Regions from separate parts of the Homo sapiens genome. Here regions 1, 2, 4 and 5 are each linked to region 3. Evidence: promoter capture Hi-C in 16 types of primary human blood cells and fetal thymus (Javierre and others, 2016). All regions are on one chromosome and are shown on one strand. The core of a region is centred on a gene start or on the middle of the fragment in contact, and the rest is flanking DNA. Distances in the headings are between cores, read along the strand shown. Region 1 overlaps ENTPD4-DT (ENTPD4 divergent transcript). Region 2 has its middle 24 kb from the start of SLC25A37. Region 3 holds the start of NKX3-1 (NK3 homeobox 1). Region 4 overlaps ENTPD4-DT (ENTPD4 divergent transcript). Region 5 overlaps ENTPD4 (ectonucleoside triphosphate diphosphohydrolase 4).

Region 1 (3,676 bases), core at 512-3,011, 200 kb after region 3:
CACAGGGACACCACGCTGGCCACCAACCCTGAGACTGGAGAGCACCGTGGGACTGCTATAGGTCCTGGTGGTTCTGAAGGAGAAGGTGAGGCAGACAGAGGAGGAAGAAAGCAATGTGGAAAGCCTTAAGCTCCTTAACCTGTAATTAGTCTGTGAACTCCACCCTGGCACCAAGGTGAAATGGGCGGGGCCACTATTCCCTTTTCCTCCCACACCCTCCTGCCACGCTGATTATCCCTTCAGGCAACTACAAGGCAATAGTGTTTGCCTTGACCTGGCTTTGCTGCATACCTCTAGATGTGACTTCCAGACCACAGACCCCTCCCAGCAATTGATGCTACCCTGGAAGCTGGCTCCTCCAGGATGCCCAGATCATAACTCGCTACCAGCTCACCAAGATTCAGCTGGGCCAAGGAGATAAGAAGGCCCATGCGAGCCACTGGTGTGGGGCAGGTCGCTCTGCTGGGTGGACTGGGTGGGCCACCAAGCTGAAGAGATGTTGACAAGCTATGGGGGCAGAATTCTCCTCTCACCCCTGGAAAAAAAATAATGGCAAAGGGATAAAATGGTTGCAAGGTACTTTTAAGAAATCTCCTCCCAGGGGTCAACAACCAAGGTGCTAATGCCTAGGTGAGCTCAGAAAACAGCTTCTGGCCGCGTGGCCCTGGCTGACAGGTGAGGTTTGGCAGGCGTTTCTTCCAACTCCTGAAGCAGGCCCCCTTCCAGGTGTTAATCCTGTGCCTTCTACCTGCACTCAGTGAAGCTCTGCTTATCCCTGATAATAAGCAGTGAGATAATGATCACAATGGAGGCATCTGACATTTTAATGGAGGCAGAATAAGAAGGAAACCAGTAGGAATGAGGAAATTGGCTTTGGGATCCACAAGGCTTGGTTTTGGGTTCCAGGGACCACTTTTCCCTGGACTTCGCACATGAGACTCTGCAGTAAGGGGGCAGATAATACAATTCATTTCAATAATTTAACACCAAAATGCTCTTCTCTAAGAAATGTGCAGGGCGGCTGGGCCCAGGGGCTCACGCCTGTAATCCCAGCACTTTGGGAGGCTGACGCAGGTGGATCACCTGAGGTCAGGAGTTCAAGACCATCCTGGCCAACATGGTAAAGCCCCGTCTCTATTAAAAAAAAAAAAATACAAAAATTAGCCAGGGGTAGTGGCGGATGCTTGTAATCCCAGCTACTCGGGAGGCTGAGGCAGGAGAATTGCTTGAACACAGGTGGTGAAGGTTGCAGTGAGCAGAGATCGCGCCAGTGCACTCCAGCCTGGGCAACAGAGCAAGACTCCGTCGAAAGAAAGCAAATAAAGAAAGAAAGGAAAGAAAGAAAGGAAAGGAAGGGAGGGAAGGGAGGGAAGGGAAGAAAGGGAAGGAAGGGAAAGAAGGGAGAAAGGGAGAAAGAGAGTCAGGGAGGGAGGGAAGGAGGGAGGAAGGAAGGAAGGTGGGTCCAGGGCATGTTCTAGGCCTTACTTCTTCCATTCTCAGACCTCTCCTGGGAGTTTCAGGGAATTCACTTTGGCCAGTTGACTTTGATTGAGTACATCCTATGTCCCTAGCAGTGCGCCTGGTGTTAGGGACACGACCCGGAATACAATCCATTCCCCACCCTTAAGAAGCTTTTAATCTAGTGGGAGAGAAAATAATCATACCTATTTTACAGATGAAGAAACTGAAACTTTAAGATTCTGATATCATTAAAATATTCATGTTTTTTCTTTCATTCATTTATTTAGAAAATTTTTATTGAGTCCACGTGATGTGCCAGGCACTCCTTGAGGTGCTGCAGGCTGACACAGGGAAAAGTCGGGCACCTTCTGCCCACATGAGACACCTATACAGACAACAACAAATATGTATTTTGTGCACAGAAGCTTTATGACTTTTGTCCAAGTCACTTCAATTTCATCCTTTAAATGTCATTCAGTGGATAATGGGAAGCTATAATTGGAGTGTGTATATGAAATACAGAGGTGTACACACACACACACACACACACACACACACACACACACACGCTACTGAAACTGCTGCCCCAGATCTCAGGGAGGTACAGGAAGAAGGGTACCTGGAGAATGATGGCTGGAGAATGATATAAGAAAGTCACGTCCAAGCCGGGCGCAGTGGCTCATGCTGGTAATCCCAGCACTTTGAGAGGCCGAGGCAGGCAGATCACTTGAGGTCAGGGGTTTGAGACCAGCCTGGCCAACATGGCGAAACCCCATCTCTACTAAAAATAAAAGATTAGGCCCAGCGCGGTGACTCACGCCTATAATCCTAGAACTTTGGGAGGCCGAGGCGGGCTAATCAGGAGGTTAAGAGATCGAGACCATCCTGGCCAACGGTGAAACCCCGTCTCTACTAAAAATACAAAACTTAGCTGGGTGTGGTGGTGCGCGCCTGTAGTCCTAGCTGCTCGGGAGGCTGAGGCAGGAGAATCACTTGAGCCCAGGAGACAGAGGTTGCAGTGAGCCAAGATGGCACCACTGCACTCCAGCCTGGCAACAGAGCAAGACTCCATTTCAAAAAAAAACAAAAACAGGCCAGGCGCAGTGGCTCACGCCTATAATCCCAACACTTTGGAAGGCCGAGGCTGGGGGATCATCTGAGGTCAGGAGTTCGAGACCAGCCTGACCAACATGGAGAAACCCCATCTCTACTAAAAATACAAAATTAGCTGGGCATGGTGGCGCATGCCTGTAATTCCAGCTACTCAGGAAGGCTGAGGCAGGAGAATTGCTTGAACCCGGGAGGTGGAGGTTGTGGTGAGCCAAGATCGCACCACTGTAATCTAGCCTGGGCAACAAGAGCAAATCTCAGTCTCAAAAAAACAAAAAACAAAAAACAAAAACAAGCAAACAAAAATTAGCCAGGCATGGTGGCGCATGCCAGTAATCCCAGCTACTCAGGAGGCTGAGGCAGGAGAATTGCTTGAACCCAGGAGGCAGAAGTTGCAATAAGCCGAGATCGCGATCGCACCACTGCATTCCAGCCTGGGGAAAAAAAAAAAAAAGTCATGTCCACCTTAAATAATGGGCTGGTTCCTGCAGGAGGAGAAGACAGCATTACAGGCTAGAGTTCAAGTGGAGGGTTAAGACATCAAGACAGGGTTAAGAGCAAGGACTTGGAGCTAGTCAGTTAGATCTGCCAGTAACTGTCAATGTGATCTGGAGGAAATCAATTTATCTCTAAATCTCAGCTTTCTCCTCCGTAAAATGAGGAGAACTGTGCATGTCTCATAAGGTGTGTACATACTGAACGTTGTGAAGATTCTCAGAAATGCTCTGTGTAACATGATTGGCCTGTCATAAGAACTCAGGAAGCTATTATCACCCATCACCATCATCATTACCAAAAAAACTGCTGACAGAAGCATTCACAGGAAGGGAATAGGAGAAGGTGGTAATGAACCTGACAGGGGACTTTTGTGGCTGGAGCAGGCTGGGGAAGAAAGTGCTGAGAGAAGGCCACTCCCTATCTTCCTGAAGATCTCCAGCAACCCTAGGAGAGACCCACATCCTGAGCTGAGCTTTCAAGGGCCCAGGCTGCATCTGGCTGGAGGGAGTTTGTTTTATGTGACAACTCGGAACGAGGGAGCCTCTACTCTGGGGGTAGGGCCTTGAGGCCCTTGAATAAGGACAGCAGTTTATCAGTCCTGTCTCCA
Region 2 (3,743 bases), core at 1,041-3,540, 180 kb after region 3:
TTTTAAAGAATTTAAAAGGATAAACCCTCAGCTATCTAAGAAGACACATTTCCAGAAAGTAGCTATGCTTAACTGGAGTTAAATATTTATTGTCAGTGAGTCAAATCCTTGGAGTATGCTGGTTAATAGAACATCAGTGAAAAGTGGAAGAGCCATTTACTTAAACCCCGTGAGCAGCCTTGGCTAAGTGAATCTTGGAAGCTTTTTAAAAAAATACTTCCAAAGTTTGGGGAGTTATCTAATTTTGCAATAAAAGCTGCCACACAAGCCAGGCACAGTGGCTCACACCTGTAATCCCAACACTTTGGGAGGCCCAGGCAGGAGGATTGCTTGAGCTCAGAAGTTTGAGCCCAGCCTGGGCTACCGAGGGAGACTCCATCTCTACCAAAATCAAAAATAAATATTAGCTGGGAGTGGTGGTGCATGCCTGCGGTCCTAGCTACTTGGGAGGCTGAGATGAGAGGATCTCTTAAGCCTGGGAGGTCCATGCTGCAGTGAGCCATGATTGTGCCTCTGCACTCCAGCCTAGGTGACAGAGCAAGACCTTGTCTCAAACTTCAAAAAAATAAAAAACCGGCCACCCCTCCCAAATACAGTGCTGTTTATCTAAGTGATGGAGGAGAGAGTGGTAGTATATTTAAGATAACCTAAAACTAACTTTTTGAGAATTTTTTAAACTTTCCATAATCCTTAAAAAATAACAGTTTTCTTATTACAAATGTGGTAGACAAACATTGTGGAAATTTTAGAAAATGCAGATAAGAAAAAAGAACAAGCTAAAAGTCACTGATAATTTCGTTCCCAAGAGATAGGACTGTGAACGTACAATGCATCCTTCCAGTCTTTTATATTTTAAATTATTTTTGATTGAAAAAGAGATACACAAATACATGCCCCTTTTAAACAAAAGCAGGCATCATATACAAAACTAAATTACCCATTGACCACCTCCCACAGTTCCAAACCCTTCCCTGCTATTCTGGTGCCCAACCGCTCTTGGGAGTTTGAAGTGTTTCCTTCCAGAATTTCATATGCATTCATGTATATATATGTATACACATATATAATTTCACATATAAATAATATATATAAGGATTTTTGTGTGTTGAATAACATTCCATTATATGGATATACCATATTTTATTTGACCTCTTAAGCTTTTAGCGGACAGTTAATATCATTAACAACTTTTCACTACTACAAACAACACTGCAGTAAACGTCTGTGTTTTCCCTTTCTCTATTCTAAATTCCTGTGAGAGGAAATTGTGGGTCTGAGGTATGCCCAAATTGTCCTCGCCATTTTAAATATGAAAACAGAGTATGAACGTTCCTGTTCCCCTGCGATCTTGACAACCCTTCACCTACCAGATCTTTCAAGGTAGCCAGCTGAGTAAGTGTAAACAGTATCTCGCCATTGTTTTCATTGGTATTTGCCTGATAAAAAATGTGTTTGAGCATCTTCTTATGTGTTTGTGGCCATGTGTATTTCCCCTTTTGTGAATTGCCTATGCATATCCACAGATCATTTTTCTTTCTTCTTCTTTTTTTTTTTTTTGAGACGGAGTCTCGATCCATTGCCCAGGGTGAAGTACAATGGTGAGATCTCCACTCATTGCAACCTCCGCCTCCCAGGTTCATGCAATTCTCGTGCCTCAGCCTCCCGAGTAGCTGGGATTACAGGTGCCCACCACTACGCCCAGCTAATTTTTGTATTTTTAGTAGAGACAGGGTTTCACCATGTTGGTCAGGCTAGTCTTGAACTCCTTACCTCAGGTGATCCACCAGCCTCGGCCTCCCAAAGTGCTGGGATTACTGGTGTAAGCCACTGTGCCCATCCCTTAGATCATTTTTCTAAAGGGCTTTTTTAAAAATTCATCTGTTTTACTCATTCTTTGAAACATACATTGCAAAGTTTTCTCCCAGCCCTCAGCTTGTCTTTAACATTGGGGTATCTTATTGTATGGTTCCTTTTTTACTATTTGGATGACATTTATTCACTGACCTAATTAAAATGTTCAGCCTTTTACTGCATGAGTTTTATTTTCTGTGACTTATTTAAGATCTCCATTTACTTGGGATCATAGTATTTTCTTATACATTTTTAGCTAACAATTTGAAATTTTTATATTGAAGGGCTAGGTTTTTAATTCATCTGTAGTATAATTTTGTGTACCACATAAGGTAGCGACTTAGTTTTATTTATTTTGTGTACACAGAGTTGATTCTGTCAATACCACTTATTTATTTATTTATTTATTTATTTATTTTTATTTTTATTTTTTTGGAGACGGAGTCTCAATCTGTTGCCCAGGCTGGAGTGTAATGGCGTGATCTCGGCTCACTGCAACCTCCGCCTCCCGGGCTCAAGTGATGATCCTGCCTCAGCCTCCCGAGTAGCTGGGATTACAGGCGCCTGCCACCATGCCAGACTAATTTTTGTATTTTTAGTAGAGATGGGGTTTCACCATGTTGGCCAGGCTGGTCTTGAACCCCCGACCTCAGGTAATCCACCCGCCTCAGTCTCCCAAAGTGCTGGGATTACAGGCATGAGCCACCACACCCGGCCAATACCATTTATTAAATAGTCCATATTCCCTCACTGATTCGAAACGTTGCCTGCATCACATTCCATTTTTGTAGTGTTGTTTCTGGATTTTTTTTTTTGGAATAATGTTTTATTGACCTAATTCTATTCTAATATTACAACAAAATGGGGCTAATTTAACTGCCCTACAGCACGAAAATGTGTGTGTGTGTTTACATCCTGCTTCTGTCTTATAACCTGCTATTTTTACTGAAAAACTGCAACAGGAGAATAGAGTGATTCTGGTAGTCACACAATGGAATATTACATAGCAATGAAAAGAAACCAAATCTTAGTATATCAACATGGATATATTTCCCAAGTAAAGAATTGAGTGTAAAAAACAAATTGTGTTAAAATGTCAGGGTGCCATTTACATACTGGTTTAAAATCTGTAAGGCAATATTTCACACAGTTTAGAAATATATATGCGGGCTGGGCACAGTGGCTCATGCCTGTAATCCCAGCACTTTGGGAGGCTGAGGTGGGCGGATCACTTGAGAAGTTTGAGACTAGCCCGGGCAACATGGTAAAAACCCCCGTCTCTACTAAAAACACAAAAATTAGCTGGGTGTGGTGGCGCACGCCTGTAGTCCCACCTAGTTGGGAGGGTGAGGCAGGAGAATCGCTTGAACCCAGGAGGCAGAGGTTGCAGTGAGCCAAGATCATGCCACTGCACTCCAACCTGCACAACAGAGTGAGAATCTGTCTCAAAAGAAAAAACGAAAGAAATATGCAAAAAAAAAAAAAAAAAAAAACCTAAAAGAAAATTCATGCAAATGAGAGAAACCAAAGTCAGAATTAGAGGTAGATTTACCATGAAGCATATGAAGCTTAAGCTCAGACCCCTTACATACATGATCCCTTTCAAGGTCCTATACTTAAATTTGATTTCTTAATTTTTTTTTTTTTTTGAGACAGAATCTCACTCTGTCACCCAAGCTGGAGCATAGTGGCATGATCTCAGCTCACTGCAACCTCTGCCTCCCAAGTTCAAACAATTCTCCTGCCTCAGCCTCCCGAGTAGTTTTTTTTTTTTTCTTTTTTTTGTATTTTTTTTTAGTAGAGATGGGGTTTCACCATGTTGGTCAGGATGGTCTTGATCTCTTGACCTCGTGATCCGCCTGCCTCGGCCTCCCAAAGTACTGGGATTAGAG
Region 3 (3,754 bases), core at 1,234-3,733:
ACACTATATACAAAAATTAATTCTGAAGGAATCATGGATTGAAGAGTAAAGCATAAAACTTTTAGAAGATAACATAGGAGCAAATCTTCAGTATTAGGACTAAACAAAGAGTTCTTAGGCAGGACATCAAAATCACATTCTGTAAAATTCAAAAATTCATAAATTGATCTTCAATGAAATTAAAATCTTTTGTTCTGTTGAAGATCCTGTTAGAGGGATGGAAACACAAGCTACAGACTGGGAGATAATATTTGCAAATAACCTACCAAACAAAGACTTACAAACAGCAATATATAAAGAACTATCATAACTCAATGGTTAAAAAATAAAAGAAAGAAAAATTCAATTATAATATGAGCAAAAGGCTTGAACAGATATTTCACCAAAGAGGAAATATGGATGGCAAACAAGCACATGACAAGGTATTCAACATCTCTAGGCATTTGTGAAATGCAAATTAAAAATTTAAACCACAATAAGGCCCAGCACAGTGGCTCACACCTGTAGTCTCAGCACTTTGGGTGGTGGAGGCGGAAGGATTGTTTGAGCCCAGGGCTTTGAGACCAGCCTGGGCAACAGGGTGAAACCTTATCTTTACAAAAACTACAAAAATTAACTGGGCAGGGTGGCACACACCTGTAGTCCCAGCTATTCAGGAGGCTGAGGTGGGAGAATCTCCTGAGCCCAGGAGGTTGAAGTTGCAGTGAGCCATGATCTCTCCACTGCACTCCAGCCTGGGCAACAGAGCAAGACCCTATCTCTAAATAAATAAATAAATGACGTCTGTAGTCTAGTTAACTGTAATGTCCCAACGTAAATTTCCTGTTTTCTACATTGTCCTACAGTTGTATAGATGTCTTTGGAGGACACTGGAGGTATTATTTTTGCAACTTCCTGTGAATCTACAATGATTCAAAAGAAAACATTAAAGAATGTTCTAATATAAAGAGACTTTGAAAAGATGAGAGAAGAAAACCAGCTTTGCCAAAGTCTTTCCCGTTGCACAGGTAGTTTTCTTTGGCGGTCGCTTTATCAGCAATAACCTATTAACTTTCCTTCCTCCAGAGACACATGACATACCATCCTTTTGAAAAGTTGCCAGTTGAATAGAAGCCGTCTTAGACCAGGACAGACAAAAAAGTTGCATTAAAAAAATGGTTCTAAAAAACATCAGCCTACCCTTTTTCCAGATTACCAACTGTTACCATTTAACCCATCGGCTTTATGGCGTGGGATCTATCAATCTGCATCCTTGTTTCAGAACCATTTGATGTAAGTTTCATAAATCTTGTGCCTTTGCTCCTACTTACTTCAGTGTTTATTTCCTAAAAATATTCTCTTGTACACTGACAGTACAATGTGCAATTTCAGTAAATTTAACATTAATTCAATACTTCCATCATCGACCTGACACTGAGACTCATGCCTGTAGTCCTGGCACTTTGAGAGGCCAAGGCAGGAGGATCACTTGAATCCAGGAAATCGAGGCTGCAGTGAGTTATGATGGCATCACTGCACTCCAGCCTGGGCGGCAGAGGGAGACCCTGTCCGTAAAAAAAAGAAGAGAAAAGACAAGGAAAGAAAATACTTCCATCATCTCTGTTCCACTTTCGTCTGTTGTCACGGTACCGTCCAGTCCAGTCACAGTACCGGTTGGACCAATCTGGCTAACCCATTGTTTAGCCAATGGGTTACATGTTAACAGTTGGTAATCTGCAAAAAGAGTATGCTGATGTTCTTTTGAACTACTTTTTTAAATGCAGTTTTTGCATTTGTCCTGGCCTAAAACGCCTTCCATCCGTCTGGAAACTTTTCAAAAGGATGGTATGTCATGTGTCTGGGGAGGAAGGAAAGTTAACAGGTTATTGCGGATAAAGGAACCACCAAAGAAAACCACTTCTGCAACGGGAAAAGGCTTTGGCAAAGGTGTTTTCCTTCTTTCAGCCTGGGGTCTGGCTGCACCTACTTGTCATGCCTCTTTGAGGTCGTAGATATTGCAGATCTGAGTTTGCACCATCTCTCCCAGAGAGAGAGAGCACCCAGAACTCTCACGGTACCGCGCGGCTGCAGTGACTGCGTGCTCATCCCCTGTAATTGGCTCTGACGGTCCTGAAGAGCTAACTGGACTGTTTGTCTTGATCGTCCCATCCCCAGGAGCTTCTCTCTGTTGCGGGTGGGTTGGGGCAGAGGAGCCCCGCTTTGGGGTGCGCTCCTGGCCTGGGAAAACGGCTCAGGGCGGAGGGAGGAGAGCTGGAGAAGGAGAGGAAATTGGGGAAGGAGAGGGAATTGGGGAAGGAGAGGGAACTGGGGAAGGAATCCCCTAGGGAGGAGCGGAGCGGGGCAGTGCTCAGGGCTCGCAGATCGGCGGGGTCACCTGGGGCTCAGGGCGGCCAATCCGCGGCGCGGCCCGTCCCGCGGCCAATGGGAGGGCGGCGCGGCCCGCTCCCCTGGGCTATAAGCGAGCCGGGAGGCGGAAAGTGAAAGCGGTGCGGGCCGGGCGGGTGCATTCAGGCCAAGGCGGGGCCGCCGGGATGCTCAGGGTTCCGGAGCCGCGGCCCGGGGAGGCGAAAGCGGAGGGGGCCGCGCCGCCGACCCCGTCCAAGCCGCTCACGTCCTTCCTCATCCAGGACATCCTGCGGGACGGCGCGCAGCGGCAAGGCGGCCGCACGAGCAGCCAGAGACAGCGCGACCCGGAGCCGGAGCCAGAGCCAGAGCCAGAGGGAGGACGCAGCCGCGCCGGGGCGCAGAACGACCAGCTGAGCACCGGGCCCCGCGCCGCGCCGGAGGAGGCCGAGACGCTGGCAGAGACCGAGCCAGGTAAGCGGCGAGGCCGGGGAAGGGGGGCAGCCCAAGGCGGACCCCCAGAGCTCGGGGTGCAGGGACGCGGGGCTCCGCGGCGACAGGCAGAGGGACCTTCCCGCCTCCGCAGCCACGCGCGCGCCCCCGGAATGAACCCTGAGCCCCAGCGTCAGGGCGGCGCAGGATTCTGACACCGCAGGACTCGCCCGGCTCCGTGCCCTCCGCTCCCTGGGGCTCAGAAGCCGGCGCGACTGCAGCGCCACCGCCCTCCACCGTCCCAGGAGCGGATCCCGCCCCGCGCCACCCGCGATCGGCGCCAGCCCCCCGGTAGTTATGAGAACTAATAATAACTTATTAACAGTGACAAAGCAGGGGTTGACCAGCAAAGCCTCCGTGTGCTTCCCAATCCCGTGGGCAGTAAAGCGGTATATTCGGGGTTCCCTCCGGTGTCCAGGAGAGAGAGTCCACTTATTTTCTTTCCTGTCACTTCTGATGAGGCGACCGAACGCCTCGTTTAGCGAAGAGGGAATTAAAGCCCAGAATGAGCCTGCCTCTGCGTCTCCAGTGGCACAAGCCCTCTCTTGCCCACCTGGATCCTAACACCGGATGTCTTTTGGTCTGGCCTTCCCGGGTATCTTGTTCCACGGCATTTTCCCTGCCTCCCTCTCCCGCCTCTCCTCAGCACACAGATCCAGAATCCCCATATAATTCTACTAGACAGTAGGGAGAAAGTTCAACCACGAAACGTCTCTAACTTTGGGTTCTTGATGATTCTTAGCAAATGAATGCGTAATAAACATATTTACTCACTCTTCACTCCGGAGAGCTCCTTAGTCATGTGAAAAAAGTGAAATGTATCCACGATGACAGTGGGCTGTTTGTTCACTCACTAAAGAGATAAGGGTGGATTGAATTCTGTTCTCTTCCCTGCTAACATGTAACTTTTGTCTTCCCA
Region 4 (3,685 bases), core at 1,163-3,662, 220 kb after region 3:
CATGAAACAGCCCACCCTTCCCTCCCACTGCCCCAACTCCAACCAGTCTCCAGCCTTCTGTGCTCTGTGTCTCTGTGATCTGTGATTGCTGCCCATGTGATGTCCCTGCTGCCAGCCCCTTGGTCTTAGACCTCCCAGTCTCTAGGATCATGAGATAATACATTTTTTCTTTCCTTCTTTTTTTTTTTTTTTTTTTTTTTTTGGGACAGAGTCTTGCTCTGTCACCCAGGCTGGAGTGCAGTGGTGCGATCTGGCTCACTGCAACCTCCGCCTCTTGGATTCCAGCGATTCTCCCACCTCGGCCTCCTGAGTAGCTGGGACTACAGGTGTGTGTCGCCATGCCCAGCTAATTTTTATATTTTTAGTAGAGAAAGGGTTTCGCCATGTTGGCCAGGCTGGTCTCGAACCTCTGACCTCAAGTGATCCGCCTGCCTCAGCCTCCCAAAGTGCTGAGATTATAGGTATGAGCCACCTCGCCCGGCCATAAATTTGTTTCTTTTAAAATCTAAATTTCATTATAAATTACCCAGTTTGTGGTATTCTGTTAGAGCAACACAAAATGGACTAAGACATTCCCCATTTCTGGGTATACATCCAAAGGATTAAAAGCAGAGTCCCAAAGACACATTTGTATACCCATATTCATAGTGGCATTATTCACAATACTCAAAGGTGGAGGCTACCCAGTGTCCATCAACAGATGAATAGGTAAATAAAATGCAGTATATCCATACAGTGGAATATTATTTGGTCTTAAAGAGGAAAGACATTCCAACGCATGCTGCAACACAGATGAACCTTGAGAACTTTATGCTAATTGAAATAAGCCAGTCACAAAAAGACCAATGCTGTAGAGTTCCACATATATAAGGTATCCAGAGTAGTCAAATTTATAGGCAGAAAGCAGACTGAGGGTTGCCGGGGGATGAAGAGAGAGGAATGGGGAGTCGTTTAGCAGGTACAGAGTTTCAGTTTTGCAAGATGAAAAACTTCTGGAGATTGGTGGCACAATAATATGTATACACATAACATTACTGAAGTGTACACTTAAAAATGATCAAGATGGGCAGGGTGCGGTGGCTCACGCCTGTAATCCCAGCACTTTGGGAGGTTGGAGCATGAGGATCATTTGAGCCCAGGAGTTTGAGGTTACAGTGAGCTACTATTGTACCACTGTACTCCAGCCTGGGTGACAGAGACTCTGTCTCTAAATAAATAAATAAATAAATAAATAAATTTAAGATGGTAAATTTTATGTTATGTGTATTTTACCACAATTTTTTTTAACAAAAGAGGAATCCTTCCTCCTCTTCACATTTATCGTTCTCTTTGTGTCTTCAGTCACATCTCATGCCACCTCTTCCAGGAGGTTTATTCATTCCTTCTGCGTTCTCCACTCTGGGATTGCCACAAACATTTGGAGGGTCAGGGCTAAGAGGACACACCCATGTTTTAAGATGTTTAAAATGATAAATTCAGATAAACTAGTAAATCAAATGTTATAGCCCCTCTAATTTTTACTTTTTTGCATTTATTTTTAAATCTATATATTAAATCTATATATCTTTGTAACAACAACATGGAAAAGTCTGTAATACTGTGGTTTCTGTAAGACTGAAAGTCAGGCAAGTATCAAGGCTCAAGCTCTGTCCTGAAGCCCCACACTCCCCACTCATCCTCCCAGCTGCTCAGGCCAGCCCACAGCCTTGGGCAACAGCAGAGGCTTCTACAGTCAAGGCCATAGGGCTACATTTTCCTGGGGTAGCTACAGAGCTGCTTCTAGGGCGTGGGACCTGTGCAGTCAGTCACAGATGGCTGGCACTTAGAAAAGCCCTGCACTGATCGGATCATGAGGTCAGGAGTTCGAGACCAGCCTGACCAACATAGTGAAACCCCATCTCTACTAAAAATACAAAAATTAGCCAGGCATGGTGGCACGTGCCTGTAGTCCCAGCTGCTCGGGAGGCTGAGGCAGAAGAATTGCTTGAACCCGGGAGGCAGAGGTTGCAGTGAGCCGAGATCACACCACTGCACTCCAGCCTGAGCAACAAGAGTGAAACTCCATCTCAAAAAAAAAAAAAAAGAAAAGAAAAGAAAAGAAGGCACAATTGGGAAACAAGCAAATAGTCCATTAAACATGTTAGAACACAGCGAAAATATATATAGGGAAGTGTCTGGACATCAGGCTTAAAAGTTGAAAGCAACTTAACCATGGCCTTGGGGTGTCATGCCAAGGAGACTAGTGTGAAGCCATCCTGTCCATGACATCTGGTCACCTCATCGATTTGCAGTTGATTTGCTCAGGAATTTCAACCTTAACTTAAAGGTGATGGTGCAGTAGGGAAGGATGGTGAGAGGAAGAATGGTATGTTATCTGGTGTGAGAAAGGAACAGAGAGAGGTTTAAGGTGTCCAATAAACTACCCACTGCTTCCTGCTTAAGTCTGAATAATTTTAGAAATGAAACAAAAACTATATGAAAACCTGTGAAAGGAAAATATCTTGGGGCCCCAAAATCACTAAGCCAAAGGGAAAATTCAAGCTGGAAACTGCTCAGGGCAAACCTGCCTCCCATTCTACTCAAAGTCATCCCTCTGCTCACTGACATAGAGGCATATTCTGATTGCCTCCTTTAGAAAGGCTTATCAGAAACTCAAAAGAATGCAACCCCTTTTCTCTCACCTACCAGTGATCTGGAAGACCCCTCCTTGCTTTGAGTTGTCCCCACCTTTCTGGATGGAACCAATGTATGTCTTACATATATTGATTGATGTCTCATGTCTCCCTAAAATGTATAAAATGAAGCGGTGCCCCAGCCACCTTGGGCACATGGCGTCAGGATTTCCTGAGGCTGTGCCATGGGCGCACATCCTCAACCTTGGCAAAATAAACTTTCTAAATTAACTGAGACTTGTCTCTGATTTTCTGGGTTTACAAACCAAAGTATCATCTTTATCACAGATGAAGCTGATATTGAAAAATGGAGCTTTTATCTAATCAGAACAACATTGACTCGTGCCAGTCATCATGATCAGGAGACAAAATTACCTTGCTTAACCAGGCCAGGGTCATAATTTCTGACCCAAATGGACCAAATATGACCTGAGTATATTCCTTCAGAAATCTGAGGTACTGTTACCAAAACTAGAGTGATGGGGCCCGAGCAGCAAAAGCAACTATGTCTGCTGCCTACGTGTGTGTGTGTTTTGTGTGTGTGTGTGTGTGTGCATGTGTTTGTGTGTTCAATTACCCATCTCCCATGTGACTCCTTTATGGTACAGTTTGATCACTCTGCTTTGATGAGAAAAGTTTGGAGTAAACCCAGGATTTAGGGCCAGACGTTGTGGCTCACGCCTGTAATCCAAGCACTTTGGGAGGCCAAGGCGGACAGATCACCTGAGGTCGGGAGTTCGAAACCAGCCTGACCAACATAGAGAAACCCCGTCTCTACTAAAAATACATAACAATTAGCCCAGCGTGGTGGCGCATGCCTGTAATCCCAGCTACTCGGGAGGCTGAGGCAGGAGAATCGCTTGAACCCAGAAGGCAGAGGTTATGGTGAGCCAAGATCGCGCCATTGCACTCCAGCCTGGACAACAAGAGTGAAACTTGGTCTCAAAAAATAAATAAATAAATAATTTTTAAAAAAATTTGGAGGAAACCCTGGATTTTGATGTTGCTTTGAA
Region 5 (3,284 bases), core at 318-2,817, 250 kb after region 3:
AACATTTGTAACATATTTTTTCCGAAACCTTAATTTTTACTCATTGGTTTTAATGTCAGAAAGCTTTATATAATGGATAGTTTAGTGGTACTTCTTAATTTAGATATAGGACAACTAAAAATAATAGCATGAAATATATATTTGACTACTCTTGGACTTTTATAGTAATTACAGGTGTTTCATATGTCATGAATTGAGCATTGAAGTACACATTTATCTCTTCGCCATTTGTAGTGGTGATTAATTTTTTTAAATTAAGCGAACATTTTTATGGCAAAGACCTTAATTTATTACATTCAACTGCATGATGAGTAACCCTGATCTGAGGAATACACAACTTGTGAGTTGAGTGAAAAGTGAAAACTTGACTGTCGGTGATGAATATTGAATTCTGACCATGCTTAACCCTTTAACAGTTCAACACCTGTCAGGCCCCTGTGATTTCACAGTATCCAACACCAACATCACTTGAGATTTTGTGAGCTCTTCTCTGTTTCTTGTTGCTTGAAGGCATGCACACACAATAGGATGACAGATGTTAACTCCCAGAAATTTCATTAGCAAGTAATAAGCCTAGTGCCTTTCAGTTAACAAAATTAATGTTTATTTTCTACAGGGCATCTCAGAGCCCATTGTACAATGGAAACTGCTGTCTGCTGCAGTTGGGACCCATAGCTGATCAAGGAAAGAAATAAGTTGAAACAGAATGATAAAAATAGAGCCAAGCCTTAGACATTCTGTCTTAACTTCTGTATTCATTTGCTAATCTTTTCCTCTGAACCAAGGTCTGTTTTTAGACTCCATCCTTTCTTTGGCATGCACTGCACCCCTCATTGAGATACCAGTTTGTCTTTGTTTAAAGAATACTGAGGACTTAAAAGAGATTTGCAAGGCAATTTGATACCAAATCCTTCTAGATGTTTGCTAATTTTTCCCAGTTTTAAAAATCCTACCCACACCTAGTTTGATAATTTTCTAGTAACTTTTCTAAAGCATCTAACCTGCTTTGCCCAGGACCGGATCTTGTCACAGTCACGTTCCTTCCATCTGTATTAGGTAAAACCACAAGCACTAGTGCAAAAATGGGGCTGGTAACACAGTTGCCTTGTGCCCAGCAGCTGGGAACATCAGGCCTTGTTGCCAGGATCGTCGGCTAATCGGGTAGGTTATCCAACTGGACTCTGGTAGCCTGTCTGCTGCAGGCAAGTTTGTATCCTGACTCTCCAAGAAAGTCTCAAGTGTGTATTTTCCTAACTAATTATCTCGGAACCCTTTTCTGTTCCACAGACACGGTCCTGCAGGTCTCATGTCCCACAGAGCGTATTTTGAGAAACACTGGTTTGCAGCCACTTCCTGAAAACACAGTTTTCTGTAGGACTCACGATGAAGTTTCTTGTTTTGCCATAGGCTCCTGGGTAAACAGACTGGTCTGACTCCTGATATGCCGTACTTGGACCCCTGCCTACCCCTAGACATTAAAGATGAAATCCAGCAAAATGGACAAACCATATACCTACGAGGGACTGGAGACTTTGACCTGTGTCGAGAGACTATCCAGCCTTTCATGAATAAAACAAACGAGACCCAGACTTCCCTCAATGGGGTCTACCAGCCCCCAATTCACTTCCAGAACAGTGAATTCTATGGCTTCTCCGAATTCTACTACTGCACCGAGGATGTGTTACGAATGGGGGGAGACTACAATGCTGCTAAATTTACTAAAGCTGCAAAGGTACCCTTGAGAGACGCCGTCTGCTCTGCATGCTTTTGAGAGACCAGTGTGGACGGTGACGGGTTATGTCCTCCTTTCACATTGACAGGGAAAGACGGAGTATAGAAGGCTGCACTGCAGCATGTTGGGATCCTGTTCCCTTTGCTTGGAGGGAGGTTGAATAGTCACAGCAGAAGTAAAAAATGTACTGTACGCTGACTTCTGCACCACTCCATTAGCTACCCTGGTCATCAGTTAGCTCCAAATTACAGTCTTTTATGTCATTTTTGTGCTTTGCTGCATGTGACAATTCTCCTACTAGCCTTCCCCCTCCCTGACCTGCCAGGATACTCCTGTTCTTGTGTTCTCTCTGCCTTCCTGACACCCCTTAAACTTAGGTGATGCCAGACTTCCACACTTGGCCCCTGATCTTCAGGTTCTTGGATGGTCTCATCCATATTCAGGGTTTGCTGCTGCCTCTCAAGAAGAGGCTCCAATCCTGACCCCTGCCCGGTTGCCTGCTAGATTCCACAACTCCAGACAAACCCACCATCCTCTCTCCATTCTGTTCCTGTTCTTCTCTCGGTTAATGGCATCGCCAACCATCCAGTCCCCTTCCCTGCAGCCTAGGAGTCATGGACTTCTCCCTCTAACCATTTCATCTCTCCCTATACACCCCAGTGTAATCAGTCACAAGTGTGGTATTTTATCTTCCAAGTATTTCTCAAACCCATCTCGAAGCGCAGAGCACTGTATGCTGTAATCATGTCAGACAGCTGGCTTCCCTCACGCTCTCCGCGACTTCTCTGTGTCCATGTCCATGTTCCTGAAGTGCCTATGCCGAGCCCGTTCCCCAGGCCAAGTGCTTTTTCCTTGTGCTCCCTGTCACACACCCAGGCCCATCTCCCACCTCTCAGCAGTGTCTTCATCCTTTAAATAGAGGTCGGGATGGTAGCCACCTCGAGGAGTTAAGTATTACATTGAGAAGACACACTTACACAATGCTCAATAAAAGTTATTATAACAAATAACTTCAAGAAAAGTGGGATCTCTTTCCCTTCTGTTAAAGACAAAAACCTTTTGCAGTTATTATCCCAGTAGCTTGTACTGTGTCCTCCACAGATGTAGGACTTAGTTTGAAGTAGCTAAAATACTGCTTCACTTTTCCAAAAATGTATGCCCGTACCATGCAGTCATGGAGGGAGAAACTAAACAGTTTTGGAGAGGTTGGTTGTGGACAGCAAAGCTCTCTTTAACAATACCCTGGACAGAATTTTAAGGCAAGGCATTGTGTTTGCGAATCAGTAAGTATTCCCTGAGTGTTTGTGTGTCTTGCCATTTGTTGTATAAGTTAAGCTTGTGTGTTTCCTAATGGGAAGGATATGCTTGTTACAAATATAAATTTGGTAAACCATTTTTAAAGTGAGAATTTTAATAAGCCTTTACTAGTGATCTATTTTGGTGAATTTGTTTTCAGGATTATTGTGCAACAAAGTGGTCCATTTTGCGGGAACGCTTTGACCGAGGACTGTACGCCTCTCATGCTGACCTCCACAGGCTTAAGTAAGTACTA

Evidence for each region. The method cuts DNA at HindIII sites, captures the fragments that hold promoters and counts their contacts. A CHiCAGO score of 5 or more calls a contact.
Region 1: a contact is called between a fragment that was not itself captured here and the fragment with the promoter of NKX3-1 in region 3, in 13 of 17 cell types (M2 macrophages, M0 macrophages, M1 macrophages and 10 more). The highest score is 15.2, in M2 macrophages.
Region 2: a contact is called between a fragment that was not itself captured here and the fragment with the promoter of NKX3-1 in region 3, in 2 of 17 cell types (naive CD8 T cells and M2 macrophages). The highest score is 5.5, in naive CD8 T cells.
Region 4: a fragment that was not itself captured here is called in contact with the fragment with the promoter of NKX3-1 in region 3 in 16 of 17 cell types (neutrophils, monocytes, M0 macrophages and 13 more); the score reaches 22.8 in neutrophils.
Region 5: a contact is called between a fragment that was not itself captured here and the fragment with the promoter of NKX3-1 in region 3, in 2 of 17 cell types (neutrophils and erythroblasts). The highest score is 7.4, in neutrophils.

Annotation. Positions count from the first base shown.
Region 1 is chr8:23,483,799-23,487,474 of GRCh38, reverse strand. The region is part of intron 3 of ENTPD4-DT (ENTPD4 divergent transcript); the gene reads right to left. Among named protein-coding and RNA genes, the nearest start is that of ENTPD4-DT, 28 kb to the right of the region's middle. The HindIII fragment of the contact is 255 bases long and covers 1,634-1,888 here.
Region 2 is chr8:23,502,960-23,506,702 of GRCh38, reverse strand. No RefSeq gene overlaps it. Among named protein-coding and RNA genes, the nearest start is that of SLC25A37, 24 kb to the left of the region's middle. The HindIII fragment of the contact is 2,262 bases long and covers 1,160-3,421 here.
Region 3 is chr8:23,681,667-23,685,420 of GRCh38, reverse strand. It overlaps NKX3-1 (NK3 homeobox 1), which reads left to right and starts at 2,483. Exons shown (of 2, transcript NM_006167.4): 1 at 2,483-2,817. The coding sequence starts at 2,532. All of the region lies in intron 3 of LOC107986930 (a long non-coding RNA gene), which reads right to left. RefSeq lists silencers at 2,302-2,811, 2,852-2,901. The HindIII fragment of the contact is 16,626 bases long and covers 1-3,754 here.
Region 4 is chr8:23,463,980-23,467,664 of GRCh38, reverse strand. All of the region lies in intron 2 of ENTPD4-DT (ENTPD4 divergent transcript), which reads right to left. Among named protein-coding and RNA genes, the nearest start is that of ENTPD4-DT, 8.1 kb to the right of the region's middle. The HindIII fragment of the contact is 5,931 bases long and covers 1-3,685 here.
Region 5 is chr8:23,435,382-23,438,665 of GRCh38, reverse strand. ENTPD4 (ectonucleoside triphosphate diphosphohydrolase 4) reads left to right here. Exons shown (of 13, transcript NM_004901.5): 10 at 1,408-1,732; 11 at 3,189-3,274. Among named protein-coding and RNA genes, the nearest start is that of ENTPD4, 21 kb to the left of the region's middle. The HindIII fragment of the contact is 3,004 bases long and covers 66-3,069 here.